Linked DNA regions of Homo sapiens: all the other regions are linked to region 1. The links are contacts of gene promoters, found by promoter capture Hi-C in blood cells and fetal thymus (Javierre and others, 2016). All regions are on one chromosome and are shown on one strand. The core of a region is centred on a gene start or on the middle of the fragment in contact, and the rest is flanking DNA. Distances in the headings are between cores, read along the strand shown. Region 1 holds the start of BTBD9 (BTB domain containing 9). Region 2 holds the start of RNF8 (ring finger protein 8). Region 3 holds the start of CMTR1 (cap methyltransferase 1).

Region 1 (4,903 bases), core at 1,192-3,691:
CTTTGGTCAGTATTTTTAAGCATCGTTCATCAGAAAGACTCCTTTCCCAACTAACATTTGTATATTTTACAGGATCAGCAGTAAAGACAAACCTCAGAGAGATAATCCCAAGCAAAACTATGTCACTGAGTGTGACTGGATGACTATTGGTACATCATTTCAGTAAATTTCCAATACAATGGCCCAAGTACATCAGGTAGATTTTAGATAATGAGACATGCACCACTGACTACCTAAAATACATGCACATTAGTGAGGCATCGATTCCAATTAGTAATTGAAATCAAAAGTATATTAACAACCTGATATTGGTTCAAGCGTAATATCCTTTACTTTCAAGTAAGGATAACACTTATTCTTGTCAAAGACTGTACTCTGATTAATACAACCTCTATCCCACCTTACAAGAAGGCTGTATCTTGTTAACAGTGGGATGCTGATAAGCCCGCCTTAATCCTTAACACTTTGCCTTCCCAACCTGCTAAGCCATCTCTCTCCAGTATTCCCCTATAAGAGACGTTCCGCTCCAGTTACCAGACATAAAAGTCGTCTTGGTATATCCTCCAACAACCAAATTCACATTATTATTTTCTCAGCTCCTGGTTTATTTCCTAACAAATTTTAACTTCTTTCAGAGACCAAGTCAAATCTTGCCTCTTTCAAAGAGTTCCCTAACTCAGCCTACACATCCTATCTTTTCTGATTTTCTACCACATTTATAGTCCTCAAACAGCACTGGTTACCTGCTACTTAACTTGGTTTTATAATTATTTTATACATCTCCTAGCTAGACTACTGCTCTCAAAGGGAAAAAAAAGACAGGTCTTCTATGTCATTTTTCACTCCATAATCCTCCTCCCACACCTATCATGATACTGGGCAGAGGGAGGCACATGTATTAAGTACTTGATGGACTGAACTCAATGCTTTCTATACATAGATACACCACTTGAGCATAGTGTGCTATATAACAAATATCCATTGCATGCCTACTCTGTGGCAAGCACATTTTTCCTATGTGTTAGACATAGGGCAAGGAGGAAAACACAGATGACTCCTGTCCTAAAAGCTATTACAGTGGAGGGAGGAAGACACTTTGAATTCCGAGTAATCTAATAAGTGTTACAAAGCAAGGTTATTACTGGTTCCAAGAGGTAACATACTTTACAGATTCTCAGTTATGAAACAGAATCATAGAATTTTAGACCTAAATGAGAACCTTGAACTTATTTTCCTCTATCCTCTTACACAAAACATTAGATTTCAGTACAGCCTATCTTTTCACTGGTTCTACAAATTGCCTTAATCAACAGAAAGAAAAGACTGGCTTCTTCCCTGTCTCCAATATTCCTCGCTCCCAAGTATGGTAACCACAACCCCTATACATCTACCCATGATAGAGTCCAGAGCACTGAGAAGACAGCACAGGGCTGAGGATGAGCTACACCTTTACATGCTGGGTTCTCCCATCATCAACACTTTCCGCCCACACAGTGAACAGAATCCGTATTTTCTGCCCAGAAAATAGCAGCCTGTACTGCCTTTAGGAAAAACAAACAAAACATGCTTCCATACTTCCTTGGATCTACTAATGACAAAAGCACAACACGGTTCTGGGAAATATAGCAAGATAACTAAGTCTATGAGGAAGTAAGAAATGAGGATGCCTATCAGCACCTTGGTCTCAAAATCTGTAACAACAATGTACTAAAACGCCAAGGAAACACATGCACATACATGTGAAGTTAGAAACTCTAGGCAACAGGTTGGCTGCCCCGGATCTATACTGACAGGTCGCCCTCCCAAGGTCGTGGGTGTGTCTGATGCCGCACGCAGGCACTGATTCACAACTCTCTCCATAACAACCAGCTCCTACTCAGAGGCTGGCCAGGGCAGGGGAGATGAGGGCCCCAGCAGTCCCAAACTTTCCAAACCCCCACCCCGGGGTCCCGGGTTTCGCCTCCTCAGTCCCAGGCAACGTCGTCTCAGACAGGATACGAGACTGCTAGGGAACCTGGGCTGCCCCTGATTCGAACTCCTCTCTTTGGGAGGCTGGTAGAGCCACCCCGAATCCCCGAAACGTCTACTTCCCACTACACCTTCGTGGACTGCGAACGGGACGGCTACCGCTCTCCCAGAGCACCCGGGCCCAAGAAATGACCCTCGTCAGGCCCCGTCCCAGCTCCTCCCCCGCCCCCGGAAAAAGCGGCGGAGGGGCGGGGGGCGGTGCGCGCGGATACGGCGGGGGCGCGCGTCCCCGCGCCGCAGGTGCGGCCAGGCCCCACCTCCCCTGCAAGGACCCGGCTACTCACCCCAGCGATGCTCCTCTGAGACCAAGCTGCGACACAGACGCCTCTTCCGCCCGCTCCGCACCCCTCTCTGCGCCACCGCCCCCTTGGCCGCTTCCGTGGCCGCCGTCCTCGCCGCCGCCCCGGCTGCTGCGGCGCGCGTCCGCTTTCACGCACTCCGCCGTGGCCGCGCACGCGCCACTGCGCGCTGGCGTCACTTAGCAACCGATCGACAGCGGGCTGCTGGGTCCGGCGATGCAGGCCCAGAAAGTCGCCTAAGGCAGCTTCCGCGGCTTTTTCGCATCGGCCCGACCCTCTGCCCCTCCAGAACAGGGGGCCCCAGGGTGTGGCTGCCCTGCCGGCACCTGGCTCCGGGTAAGTCGAGTCACCACACGTCACTGTATGGCGTCACCGGCGCACGTCACTACGGATGAGAAGGTCCTGGGCGCCTGTGGAGTGACCTCGTCCAGACCGCCGCAGACCCGATCGGCAAGTTCTTGGAGGTGCAGGAAGGTTCTCCAAGGAGTAGGACCAGAAAGGGATGAGAGCGCGAGCGCGGTTAATGTCGAGGCTGCTAAGTGATGCTCGTTAATTTCGCAGCAGGGTGTGACTGGCCCAGCCTTGACTCTCAGTTTCCTCTCTCAGTAAATGGGCATAATAATACCGGTCCAGCCTACGCTGGAGAATTGTGAGGTGAAAATGAAATAAGGTATGCAAAGGTACTTTGTAAGTATAAAGCCCATTTGACTTGGTGGCTCAAGCCTGTAATCCCAGCACTTTGGGAGGCCGAGGTGGGCGGATCGCTTGAGCTCAGGAGTTCGACACCAGCCTGGGTAACATAGTGAAACCCCGTCTCTACAAAAAAGACAAAAACTAAATGGGCATGTTGGCGCGCGCCTGTAGTCACAAATGCTCGGGGGGCTGAGGTGGGAGGATCGCTTGAACCTGGGGAGTTCAAGATTGCAGTGAACCGTGATCGCGCCGCTGCACTCCAGCCTCTGCAGTGAGAGCAAGACACTGTCTCAAAAAAATGTATTTATCTATCTACATAGATAAGAGTCCTAGAAATCCGGGTGCAGGTCTGACTGTAGCTGGTGTAGGAAAGTCAGTTATCCCCGACGCTGGAGCAAGCTAGGGGACCGCCCTTGCAGTTGTTGGAGGAGACAAATTGGGAAGGACTTAATTCCGGGCAAAGGAAGCTTCATGAGTAAAAGTAGAAAGTGAAAATGGTCAGGAAAAGCAAGGCTTGGGGCAGGGAGACCCATTTTTAGGCCATTGCAGTACTCCAGACAAGTGATAAGAACATTAAACAAGGCATTGGCAGTGGGAATAGAGGAGGGGATAGATGTTAGCGCCATTAAGGTGGTAGAATTCACAGCACTGAGTGCGGATAAATGAGTAGGCCAGGTTTCTAGCATGAGTGCTGAGGTAGACAGTGGTAACATTTAGCAAGATGGCAAGCTACATGAGTCTTGATTATCCACAAGTGTCTAAGTTACTATTATAGATAGTGATGGTGACATTTCTTAGGAGGATGACCAGATATGTGGAGTATGATGATGAGTTCAAATATGGATATGTTTGTTAGGGAAACATTTACTCTCCATTCACAATGTCTTTCTTCCATATGGAATGATATCCATTAGTGTAATACTCTCCTGGTTTCTCTTATACCTGTCTGCAACTCACTCTTGCCTAGAGGAGTGACTTCCTGATTGGTGAACTTAAATGGGAGAAACTGGACATGTGGCATCTATCCCATTCTTTTTCTCTTAAAAGATAACTATCTTCAGGGAACTGTCCTGGTGTTCTTTTCCGTTTCTTCTGGAGCAGGGCCTGTGGGTAGGGACAAGGGTGCCTAGTCCAGGGCTACAAAGAGAGTATATGTATTTAATTCCAGAGTTTGGCATTAGGAAGCTGTCTGTCCACAGATAATATTTAATACCAGCTTTGTCAGCTGTGTTACACAGAATAATGATCCCCCCCAACCAAAAAAAAAAGGATGACCACACCCTAATACTCAGAACCCATGAATATGTTATATTATGTGGCAAAAGGGACTTTGCAGATATGATTAAATGATGTATCTAGGGAGATTATCCTGGATTGTCTGACTGGGCTGGAGGCAGGAGGGTCAGAGTCAGAGAAGGAGATGTGATGATGGAAGCAGAGGTCAGACAGAGATTTGAAGATGCTATACTGTTGGCTTTGAAGATGGACCCAAGAAACGCAAGCAAATTGTAGATGCGGGAGAAGGCAAGGAAATGGATTCTTCTCTAGCACCCTAAGAACACAGCCCTGCCAACACCTTGATTTTAGGACTTCTGACTTCTAGAACTGCGAGATAAGAAACTTGTATGTTTTAAGGTACCAAGTTTGTGCTAACTTGTTACAACAGCAATAGGAAACTGATACAGTCAGTAATAAAGATAATAGTTGGTTTCCTGCAGCTTTCTCCATTACCTGGAAAAGAAGGGTACAATTCAGTAGGTCCCCTCAGAGACTATAGCAATATGACTGTGACCTGATGGAACCTCCACATCTAGAGAAAAATGTCCAATAAACACTCAAACTGTACAGGTCTATGAATGAGGAAAGAGGTTGAGTTAAAATAG
Region 2 (4,903 bases), core at 899-3,398, 1.3 Mb before region 1:
AGACTTAAATCCGATGGAAAGTTTAAAGTTGTTTAAAAGTGGGCTATAGTTTCACATGACTTTTTTAAAAAGAGGAAAGGTGAGAAGAGGTTCCAGTCTGGGGCGGCTAGGACTGGGGTGATGGTTCTGGAGGCGGCGAGGGAAGGTGTGAGGCGAGGAGACCTCTCGAATCGCGCCCGCCCCGCCCAGGGCCGGATTGGCTCCCAACCCACCCTCTTTGCTCCAGGGCGGCCGCCGTCCTCTTGCGCAGGCGTAGTGCTCCTGCTTCCTGGCCGAGGGCGGGCGAGCGGAGCCTGCTTTCGCAGCGATCGCGAGCGTGTGGCGATTGCTTCTGTCTGTTATTTAGATATGGAAGCTGAGGGGATGCACAGAGGCAGCCAGAACCTAGGTCAGGGTCTCGCTCGGTGCTGACCGCCCCCGGGGTCGAGTAGGCGATGGGGGAGCCCGGCTTCTTCGTCACAGGAGACCGCGCCGGTGGCCGGAGCTGGTGCCTGCGGCGGGTGGGGATGAGCGCCGGGTGGCTGCTGCTGGAAGATGGGTGCGAGGTACGGGGGAAGGGGTCCTGTGGAGCGGAGGGCAGGGGCTGGAGGGAGCGGGGCTCCGGGGAGGGAGGAAGGTGTCTTGCTGGGCTGAATGAATGGCAGAGAGGAGGCGGGCATCAGGAAGAGGAGCGAAGTGTCTGTGGGGGGGGTGGATTCCTGGGGAGAGAAGGGAGAAAGCGGTTCTGGCGCGAGCGGCTGAAGGGTCTGCGGTGGGAGGTGTTTGGGGGAGAAATAGGGGCCGAGTGGGAGAAAGGAAGAAAAGAGAGTTCGGCTCTGGGGAGCCCGGGGGGGCCACAAGGGTTGGGGCGAGGACGGAGGCCCTGACCCGCGGCCTGTGGGGCGAGAAGCGGGCCCCGTCCAGAGAGGCCTGGGTCAGCGGGTAGCTGGGCCGGGGACTGGGAGGAGAGGGACGCGCAGGGAACGTGAGGAGATGCGGGGGTGTCGAGGAGGGGAGGGCGGGGGCTGGCCAGATCCCGTTTAGGGCGCACAGAGCCCCGCGGTGCCAGGTCGGGGAACGGTGGCGGGGGCCGCGAGCTGCCGGGAAGCCGAGGCAGGGCCCGGCGCCTGAACTTTCTCGAGTTTGTTTTGAAAACGATTGCAAATTTTGGGTTTTGTCCCTTAAAGCAATCAAACTTTCACGTAGAAATGTCTTCCTCCTTCCCAACTCTGAGGAACATGGGCGGCTTGGGCTGGGCCACATTTCTCCTGTGAGGCTCGGTACGGCCGAGTGGCACTCCCTGAGGTGGGTCGGGCAGGTATTCAGAGTTCTCTCCAGAGGCTGCCTGTCGTCTTTATTAATGCAGTTGCAAATGAAAAATATTTTAAGGGGAAAGATGAGGTACCGTTCCTGGCACGGTTCAAGATGCACCAGCGTGGTGCATCTTGAAAAGACGAGGGAAGGGAGGAGGGAGTTAGATTGCAATCAGGTTGAGAAGGAGAACTGGGTCAGGGACAAGCTTGTGATGACTGGGAACCATTTGGGTTTTGGAAATAATCTGTATGAAAAGTTCTCTTTGCAGTAAAAGTGGATGGTTGGTCATGATGTAAATTCAAGAAGTATTTTGAGTCTCATGTGTGTTCAGGTAGATTTTTCCTATAAGCCGTACTGCCTCAATTCAGTCTGCCAGGTATTTACTGAGTATTTAACATTGTTTGGTGTACAATGAGGACAAATAAAATTTCTGCGCTCGAAGAGTTTAAGGCTTGAGTGGGGAGAGAGGATTTATACAATGAAGCAGTCATCGTATAAAGAACATCCATATGGGCTGTATGATCAAGTGCTAAGATTTGGATTATTTAGTTCCTTCCCAGAGCAGTAGTTCTTCAAGTCAGAGGAGGAATTCATGTCTAGGCACAAATTTAATTGCTAGATTAGGGAGTGTTATAAAGGGTTACTTGTATGCTGTGGTTTGAGGAACACCAAGAAAACATCTCTGCCTCCAAATACCTCTTCTATCCAGGTATTAGTGCCTAAAAGTCCACATTAAGCATTCATTCTTTTAGCTTGAGCACTGATCTTTCCCTGCCTGGCCCTTTCCAACAGCATATGTTTGTGGGAAGTTTAACAAATTAAAACACGAACACCTGAATAATAACCTGAATAATACACACAAAAATAAATTATTTTTGTGCATAACTATTAGTTAATTTCACATACATTACTTAATCTGATCCCTGCATACACACAACCTCATAAGATAACTCAGTGGGCAAGTGTTATTCCTTTAGATTCAATTGTTGTGGATTAATTTATGACTTCTGAATAGCTTGTCAGTACTGCAGTCTTGGGCAGGTGGGATGGGGAGGACGAATTAAAGCACCTGAAGAAAGGGCAAGAAGACTATAAAGCAGTCTTAGACATATTCTAAACCATTTGATAGTTCTTTATGGGGCCAGTTGCATGGGGAGGGACCCATATAAACTCAGTGGTAAGACTGTGGCTGGCTTCAGGGACCTGTGTGTAGGAGAAGCCTGCCAGGCTTGGCTGCCTGCAAGGTCAGGTCGTAGCATAGCCTGAAAAGAAGTCTGAATCAAAGGCAAGAGAAGAAGTTGTACTTATTGTTATGGTCCCCAAATCATAGCACAAGCTGTTTTGCACAAGATTTTAAAAGATACGCTAATAACATAACAGCAAAGGTAGGTCAGTTCCCTGCCTTTCCAGTTCTTAGTCTCAGATGTTGTGGATAAAATAATAAAACAGGGTTCCTTTCATTTCATTGATGGGAACACTGTAGTAAATTGTCTAATTAAGTGGCTTTAAGCTTGTTAAAGCAATGCATAGAGTTTGGTGGAAAAACAAGTAGAGATTTATTGCAAATTAGCTAGTTCTCAGGTACTATAAAGTATCTAGGCCTTTGGGGAAAACAACAGAACCTTCTCTCCCCTTTTCTTCTCTTGTATTTAGTTTTCATTAAGTTTTCTGCCCCAAGGGAAAAAAGGGAAAGGATGGTTATATTTACTGGTTTGGGGGCTTTTTTGTGGGGTGTTTTGTTTTGAGACAGAGTACTCCTTCTGTCACCCAGGCTGGAGTGCAGTGGTGTGATCACACCTTCACCTCCCTGGTTCAAGTGGTTCTTCTGTCTCAGCCTCCGAAGTAGCTGGGATTACAGATATGCACCACTATGCCCAGTTACTTTTTGTGTTTTCAATAGAGGTGGGGTTTCGCCATGTTGGCCAGGCTGGTCTCGAACTCCTGGCCTCATGTGATCCGCCCGCCTGGGCTTCCCAAAGTGCTGGAATTACAGGTGTGAGCCACCACACCTGGCCAGATTTACTTGTTATTTGAGAAACAGTAGGAATTGTGCCCAGGAGGAAAGAGATAGTCTTAGTGAAGGTGGGCAAAGACAGGATGATCTTTTAGATCAATAATGTGTGTAAGCTCAAAGGCTTGCAAAACTATTGTAAATGAAAACAACCCCTCACATATGGGTCGTCAGTCAGTTCCCACGGGAAATTCAGTGTTATGTTGAGTGGTCCTGAGATTTCCAGGTAACCTCACTGCACTCTTTAACTACAGTATAGGTGAAATATCAGTAGTACCAAGGTAAATTCTAAGACCAGGCAGTGCAGGGAAGGATGTAAAAGAATGATTCCTTTTTCTGGGTTCAGAGTCTGTTGGAGGCAATGTCAGGAAAAGGCACTCTTCTACTGTTTTGGTACTGTTTTCCCCTGGCTACTCACAATGGCAGTCTGGCTGTCTCCCCTCAAGTATTAGCATGTAATATGAGATGCTTCCTCTCTTAGAGATAAAGCTACCTAAATAGAAATTTTACTGAATATGGACGACAGATAAATCCCTAGCCATTCCATTTTTAACAGATATGTGTATTCAGAGGAACTTCTATAATTAATATAATTCTGGCAGAGTGTGAAAGAACTGAAAAACTTTGTGCTCAGTGTTGGTGGAGTGATCACCACAACATTTTAAAGAGAAACAAGTGAGACTGTATGAGTTCCAACTGCTGCTCCATATTTTCCAATGGTAATACAGTCTCTAACTTCTGACCTAAAAACACCCACCCTAAAATCTTGAGGACTCATATGCAAGACCTCTTTATTCTTTCATTCATTCTCAAATACTTAACTGAACACTATGCCAGGTATAGAAACACAGTGGTAAACAAGACAGATAAAGTCCCTGCTTATCTAATTTATATTCTATTACGGGGACAGAGGGGAAAAGTAAAATAAACAAGATAATTTTGGTCTGTGATAAGTACTTCCTAATAACTGAAGAAATATGATGGGAAGCAGACAACCAACTTTAGACAGAGGTAATCAGAGTAGGCTTATGAGTAGCTGGAACATGAAAGATAAGGAGCCTGTGCAAGATCTGAGAGAAGAGTGTTCTTAGCAGAGGGGCTAAGTGAAAAGACCCTCAGGTAGGCTGGCACTTCGGGGAGATGGGCTTAAGGAACAACAACAACAAAAAAGTTTGAGGGGCTGGAGCAGCTAGTGTTGGCACTATGGTATGAGTTAAGACTAAAGAGTAGAAGGGCTCAGGACATTCAGGGTCTTATAGGCCATGGAAGGAAGTTTGAATGATTGGACAGTTTTAAGGAAAGAAGGAAAATGACCTGATTTAAAATTTTTACATTTCTATTCCAGTTACTATTATAAAGCTTATGGGGGCTAGAGTGAGAACAGAAACAGTAGGAGGCCAGGTGGTTTGGACTAAGGCTGTGGCTGCAGAGATAGGAATGAACAGACTTAGGACATATTTGAATTATAGCCCATATAATTTACCAGTGATTTCAATGTGGGGATGAGGGACAGAGATGAATCAAAGATGGCTTCTGGGTTATGGGTTGAGTAGTTGGTTGGATAGTATTGTGAATACTGAGATAAGAGTTTGTGGGGAG
Region 3 (4,903 bases), core at 879-3,378, 1.2 Mb before region 1:
GGTATACTCATATACATTAAAAAATAAAATTTAACTTTAACTTGACTATATTTTGAATGCATTCTCTCATTATTTAATGCTTTACATAAAAATTAAATCATTAAATTTGCTAAATATGTTAACTTTTTCAATATAACTCATTTCCTATACCTTATTTTATACCCTTCAAATTATTATTTTGAGAATGGGTCCATAAGCTCTACAAGATTACCAAAAGTGTTCATGTCATAATGCATGCTAAGAAGCCTCAGTGAGGTGGAAAGAAGGACACTAAACTTTAGAACATAGAGAACTAGGTAAATACCTGTTTGCTGCTTCCTAGCTCTGTAATCTTGAACATATCACTCAACCTTCATTCATATTCCACACTTCCACAGATTCAGTAAATATCTATTGAGCACTGACCACCAGCCTCTGTTAAATCTTGTGAATTTAATACAGACAGACAATCTTTCCTGTACAGAGTTTACAGCTGAGTCGGGGAGGCAGATGAGTCCACAGGCCATTATACAACACCGTGGTAAGTGCTTTGATAGTGGAAGGACAGAGTGCTTTAGGAGCTCAGAGGTGGGTCTCCCAACCTAGATTTGTGACATCAGGAAATATTTCGAGATAGGGACACTAAAGTGACTCCTGAGGGATAAATGGACATTAGCCCAGCAAAGAGGAGAAGCATGATCCAGGCAGGGGGCTGAACTCTTAAGAGACATGGCATGTTTTGTTTTGTTGTGTTCTGTTTTTGAGATGGAGTCTGGCTCTGTCGCCCAGGCTGGAGTGCAGTGGTGCAATCTCTGCTCACTGCAACCTCTGCTTCCCAGGTTCAAGCGATTTTCCTGACTTACCCTACTGAGTAGCTGGGACTATAGGTGCGCACCACCACACCCAGCTACTTTTTTTGTATCTTCAGTAGAGACGGGATTTCACCATGTTGGCCAGGCTGGTCTCGAACTCCTGACCTCAGGTGATCCATCCGCCTCAGCCTCCCCACGTGCTGGGATTACAGGTGTGAGCCACCGCGCCCGGCGGAGACACGGCATATTTGATAAACTGAGAAGAGTCAGCATGGGGAGAACTAAGGGATAGCAGTACAAGGCATACCTGAAGAAGGGGTCATGCTGGAGGGTCTCAGAGGCCATTTTAAGGACATTAGCTTTATTCTAAGAGCAATGGGACATCATTGATGGATTTTAATCATTGTTGGGTTGTGACAGGATCAGGTTTAATTAATCAATTTTAAATTCCCTTCTTTTCACAGGTGTTGAAAATTATAAAAATCACTTTGGTTTTGTGAAGAACGCATTAGAGGGATCACAACTGGAGACAGTCACGGGAGTTTGGAGTTACTGGAGAAATTCTGCCGAGAGGGGGTAAGTGCATGAATTGTGGCAATGGGGATGGGGGTGAATGGATGGATTTGAAAGACAATTAGGAGGTAAGCGCAATTAAGTGTATGAGAAACTTTGGGGTATGAAGAAGAGGGAGATTCCTCAGATTTCTAGCTGGACCAACAGGATGGATGGCAGCGCCCTTCACCAGGAAAAAAGTGAGCTGATGGAAGAACATAAGGTGAAATTTGAATTCATGGGGTTTGAGGTGACTGAGTGAGGATGTCCAACAGACGTTTGGCCATATTGGCCTGAAAATCAGAAGAGAGGTTTGAGATGGAGAGCCAACTGTGCCCATATGGTAAGATGCTACAGGCGGCATTCCTTCTGTCCTCCCGTCCTTCGTTCAAAATCTGTTGAGATGTCCCATAGGCTGGATGTTGGGGATACAGCAGGGAACAAGAACACTGCGTTCGCTCAACCAGTTTACCATCTACCTCTCTGAACTTGTTCTTAGTCTGTAAAATGAAGATAATGATAAGATTAAGTAAGATGAGGTCGTGTGAGGGCACCTAGCACTTACAATTTTTGTATTGGTTTCTCTTCCTCAGAGCCAAAGGAGGAGATAGTTACTTTTGCTTTTGCAGCCTTTTCCGGGCGGCTTTTCCGCGCAGGCGCCCCTGGACCTCCCAGGTTGAGAGGTGGAGCGGGCCAAACCTCAGCTGCCTTTCCCGGGGCCGGGACCCGGCCGGGGGAGGACCGAGGCGCGGCGCTGTCCGTGACGTCATCAGGCTGCGCTGCCCGCAGTACTGGACCCGAGCGCGACGGTGCGGCTGGCGGACCCGGGCTGGCTTGTGGGGAAACGAAACTGAGGGAGGAGGCGGCGGCTCTGGCAGCGGCGGCGACAGTGTCGGCCTGACCCCCCCTCCGCTCCCCGGCAGCTCGCTCTCTCCCCTCAGCGTGAGTGCCGACGCGCGGCCCGGGGGGAGCAAGCGGGCGGGCGCGCGGGCTCAGCATCCTTCTCCCCTCCACCGCCGCCTGGGCCCCCCGCCCGCGGTTATGGGTCTCCTCGCCTTCTGGCCCCTTATGTCTTCCCTCCTCCTCCCACCCCCAACGCCGGCTCCCTGGAGCCCGAGCTGCCGCTGACACACGTCTCTGCGCACACATTCACACGCTCATGTTATCTTCAAATGAAGGGACTGGCCGGGAGACATGGGAGCTTATCTCTTCTCTCTGTGATTAGGGGTGGCAGTGCCAAACCGAGGCCCAGGGAGAGAAGACTGCAGAGGGGATTTGAACCCCTTCTGTGCGGAAGCAGCAGGTAGAACCAGGCCGCTTGCCTTCCGCTTAGAAGTTCCCTGCCAGAGCATTCTGCTGGCATGTGTGGGTCACTTGAGCAGGGCACTGGTTAGCTGTGTGGCCTTCACCTCTGTGGCCGCAGTCTTTTCCCGTGGAAGATGATAGGGTTGGATGAGATGATTTGGAAGGCCCAAATCTAAGGTGATGTGGTTTGGGGAGGAGCATCCGCCTCTCCTGCCTTTCACACAGCTGTTCAACAGTCCGCTTTGAGTTTGCTGTACTTCCAGTCTCCCCCCGAGTCACTTAAGAATTAAAAGCTTTTAGCGCTTGCAATGGCTAGAAGCAAGCTCTGTGATGAGCCTTCCTTTATCTCACCCTGGGGGCCTTTTGGGGGTATTTAAGACTACGGCTTAAAGTGAAATGTGGCTTAGCTTGGTCTTGCTTTCTGTTTGCTCAGTGTCTCCGGTTCTTCCCTGGGACAGCCCCTGCCTGTATCTAGTAAGAGGCTGCTTTCTCAGGAAGGTGGCGGTTGTGCATTGGGTTGATTGGCTCTTCCTTGAGTTGGAGAGAACTGAAACATGTGATCCAGGGTTTTACGAGGTTGGGAGCATCAGTGACACTTTTGGGTTTCAATACTTTCTTGCTGTACCTCGCCTTCCCTAAGGATTGTTTCCCAGCTTGTCGCCCACCCTGTATTGAGTCCTCTTTTCTGAGTTCTCTACAGCCAATCAGTTGTGTGTAAGCCACACTGTATTCACTACTTCTCTTGCTTGCTCTTTAACTTGATAATTCGTTAAGATTTCAGGGTTTCATAATCACTTCATTCCATCTTATTTTTTTCTCGTGCTTATCTCTCATGTACCTAACCATGGGGATGGATGATTGATGGTGGCATGGTGCCTGTTTCTTTCTTTTTTGTTTTTTTGAGACGGAGTCTTGCTCTGTCGCCCAGGGTGGAGTGCAGTGGTGTGATCTCGGCTCACTGCAACCTCCGCCTCAGCAATTCAAGCGGTTCTCCTGAGTAGCTGGGACTACAGGCATGTGCCACCACCCGGCTAATTTTTGTGTTTTTTTTACTAGAGATGGGGTTTCACCATGTTGGCCAGGCTGGTCTTGAACTCCTGACCTCAGGTGATCCGCCCACCTCTTTCTCCCAAAGTGCTGGGATTACAGGCGTGAGCCACCGCGCCCAGCTGGTTTCCACTCTTTTTTGTGGAGGTGGATTTCTGTCCTTAAAATTGTTGTTTTCGTAACTGAGTTCTGTGGTATAGCTACCTCCAGTCCCAATAACTTTCCCGCTCTTGTGTTTCCTCGGTCTTAAGTCATTTCACTGCTTCCATTCCCTACTCTGCTTAAAAACTTTCCCAATTCTTTCATGTTTTCAAACATTATGAAGTAAACCAAAACCAGTATTTTTATGATATTATGTAATTTCTTAATTGTTTTGGTAAAATAATGCTGATGAAACAGTCATTCTGGGATGGTCCCTTCACCTTGGGAATATTGGTTAATATTTATTCGGTTTTATAGTTCATTTTCAGTGTACATTGTCATGCATGGCCAATATTGCATCAAAAGTGTAGAATAACTACAGGTACCAAGGCTTTATCCCCCAGTGGCTTGTGGAGTTGATCCATGACTTTCTGTTATCTGACACCAGTGGCCCAGGGCTCTCTCAGTCTGTGAGCACCACATTTTCCAGTAAAACAGCTATTATTGAAAACCAACACTTGTCTAGCATCCTTCCTAGACCTCATTCTGAGGAAGAGGCTATTCAAGTGCTGGCACTGGAAGATGTGTAGAATTGCCAAATCTCATCCCATTGATGATTTACACTTTGGAATCCCTGCTGTGATCCCAGTGGCTGTGACCCAAGGGCAGCTGACTGACTGGATTTATGGTTACAGTTAACGATGAAGAGGAGAACTGACCCAGAATGCACTGCCCCCATCAAGAAACAGAAAAAAAGAGTTGCAGAGCTTGCCCTGAGCCTCAGCTCCACGTCCGATGATGAACCTCCCTCCTCTGTCAGTCATGGAGCAAAAGGTACGTGTGCTTGTGTGGTCTGAGGCCACTGGCCATCTGGTTATTTGAACACACAGTGTCTAATCTAGGTGGAGCAGACTATAGTCCACTGCCCCTTGGTCCCTTGAGGAAAATTAGGAATACTCTACAGAGAGATGTTGGCTATAGACTCTTTTCCCTTCTGCCATTCTCCTACTAAGAGTGGGGAAACTTGTTTTAAATAAAAAATGGTAATTTTTCCAGAAGTTGCTTTC

The links. Contacts are between HindIII fragments. The CHiCAGO score rates a contact against its expected background, and 5 or more counts as called.
Region 2: a fragment that was not itself captured here is called in contact with the fragment with the promoter of BTBD9 in region 1 in 1 of 17 cell types (fetal thymus); the score reaches 5.5 in fetal thymus.
Region 3: a contact is called between the fragment with the promoter of CMTR1 here and the fragment with the promoter of BTBD9 in region 1, in 1 of 17 cell types (naive B cells). The highest score is 5.2, in naive B cells.

The regions. Positions count from the first base shown.
Region 1 is chr6:38,637,488-38,642,390 of GRCh38, forward strand. It overlaps BTBD9 (BTB domain containing 9), which reads right to left and starts at 2,442. Exons shown (of 11, transcript NM_001099272.2): 1 at 2,313-2,442. It overlaps LOC105375044 (a long non-coding RNA gene), which reads left to right and starts at 2,908. Exons shown (of 3, transcript XR_926767.4): 1 at 2,908-2,997. RefSeq lists a silencer at 2,105-2,304 and enhancers at 2,404-2,904, 2,705-2,784. The HindIII fragment of the contact is 9,229 bases long and covers 1-3,485 here.
Region 2 is chr6:37,353,731-37,358,633 of GRCh38, forward strand. It overlaps RNF8 (ring finger protein 8), which reads left to right and starts at 253. Exons shown (of 8, transcript NM_003958.4): 1 at 253-545. The coding sequence starts at 435. RefSeq lists a silencer at 106-205 and an enhancer at 506-555. The HindIII fragment of the contact is 1,305 bases long and covers 1,497-2,801 here.
Region 3 is chr6:37,431,093-37,435,995 of GRCh38, forward strand. It overlaps CMTR1 (cap methyltransferase 1), which reads left to right and starts at 2,129. Exons shown (of 24, transcript NM_015050.3): 1 at 2,129-2,285; 2 at 4,532-4,670. The coding sequence starts at 4,538. LOC107986531 (a long non-coding RNA gene) reads right to left here and starts at 2,131. Exons shown (of 2, transcript NR_171666.1): 1 at 1,959-2,131; 2 at 1,136-1,843. RefSeq lists enhancers at 1,811-2,312, 2,005-2,284 and a silencer at 2,285-2,474. The HindIII fragment of the contact is 3,378 bases long and covers 1-2,939 here.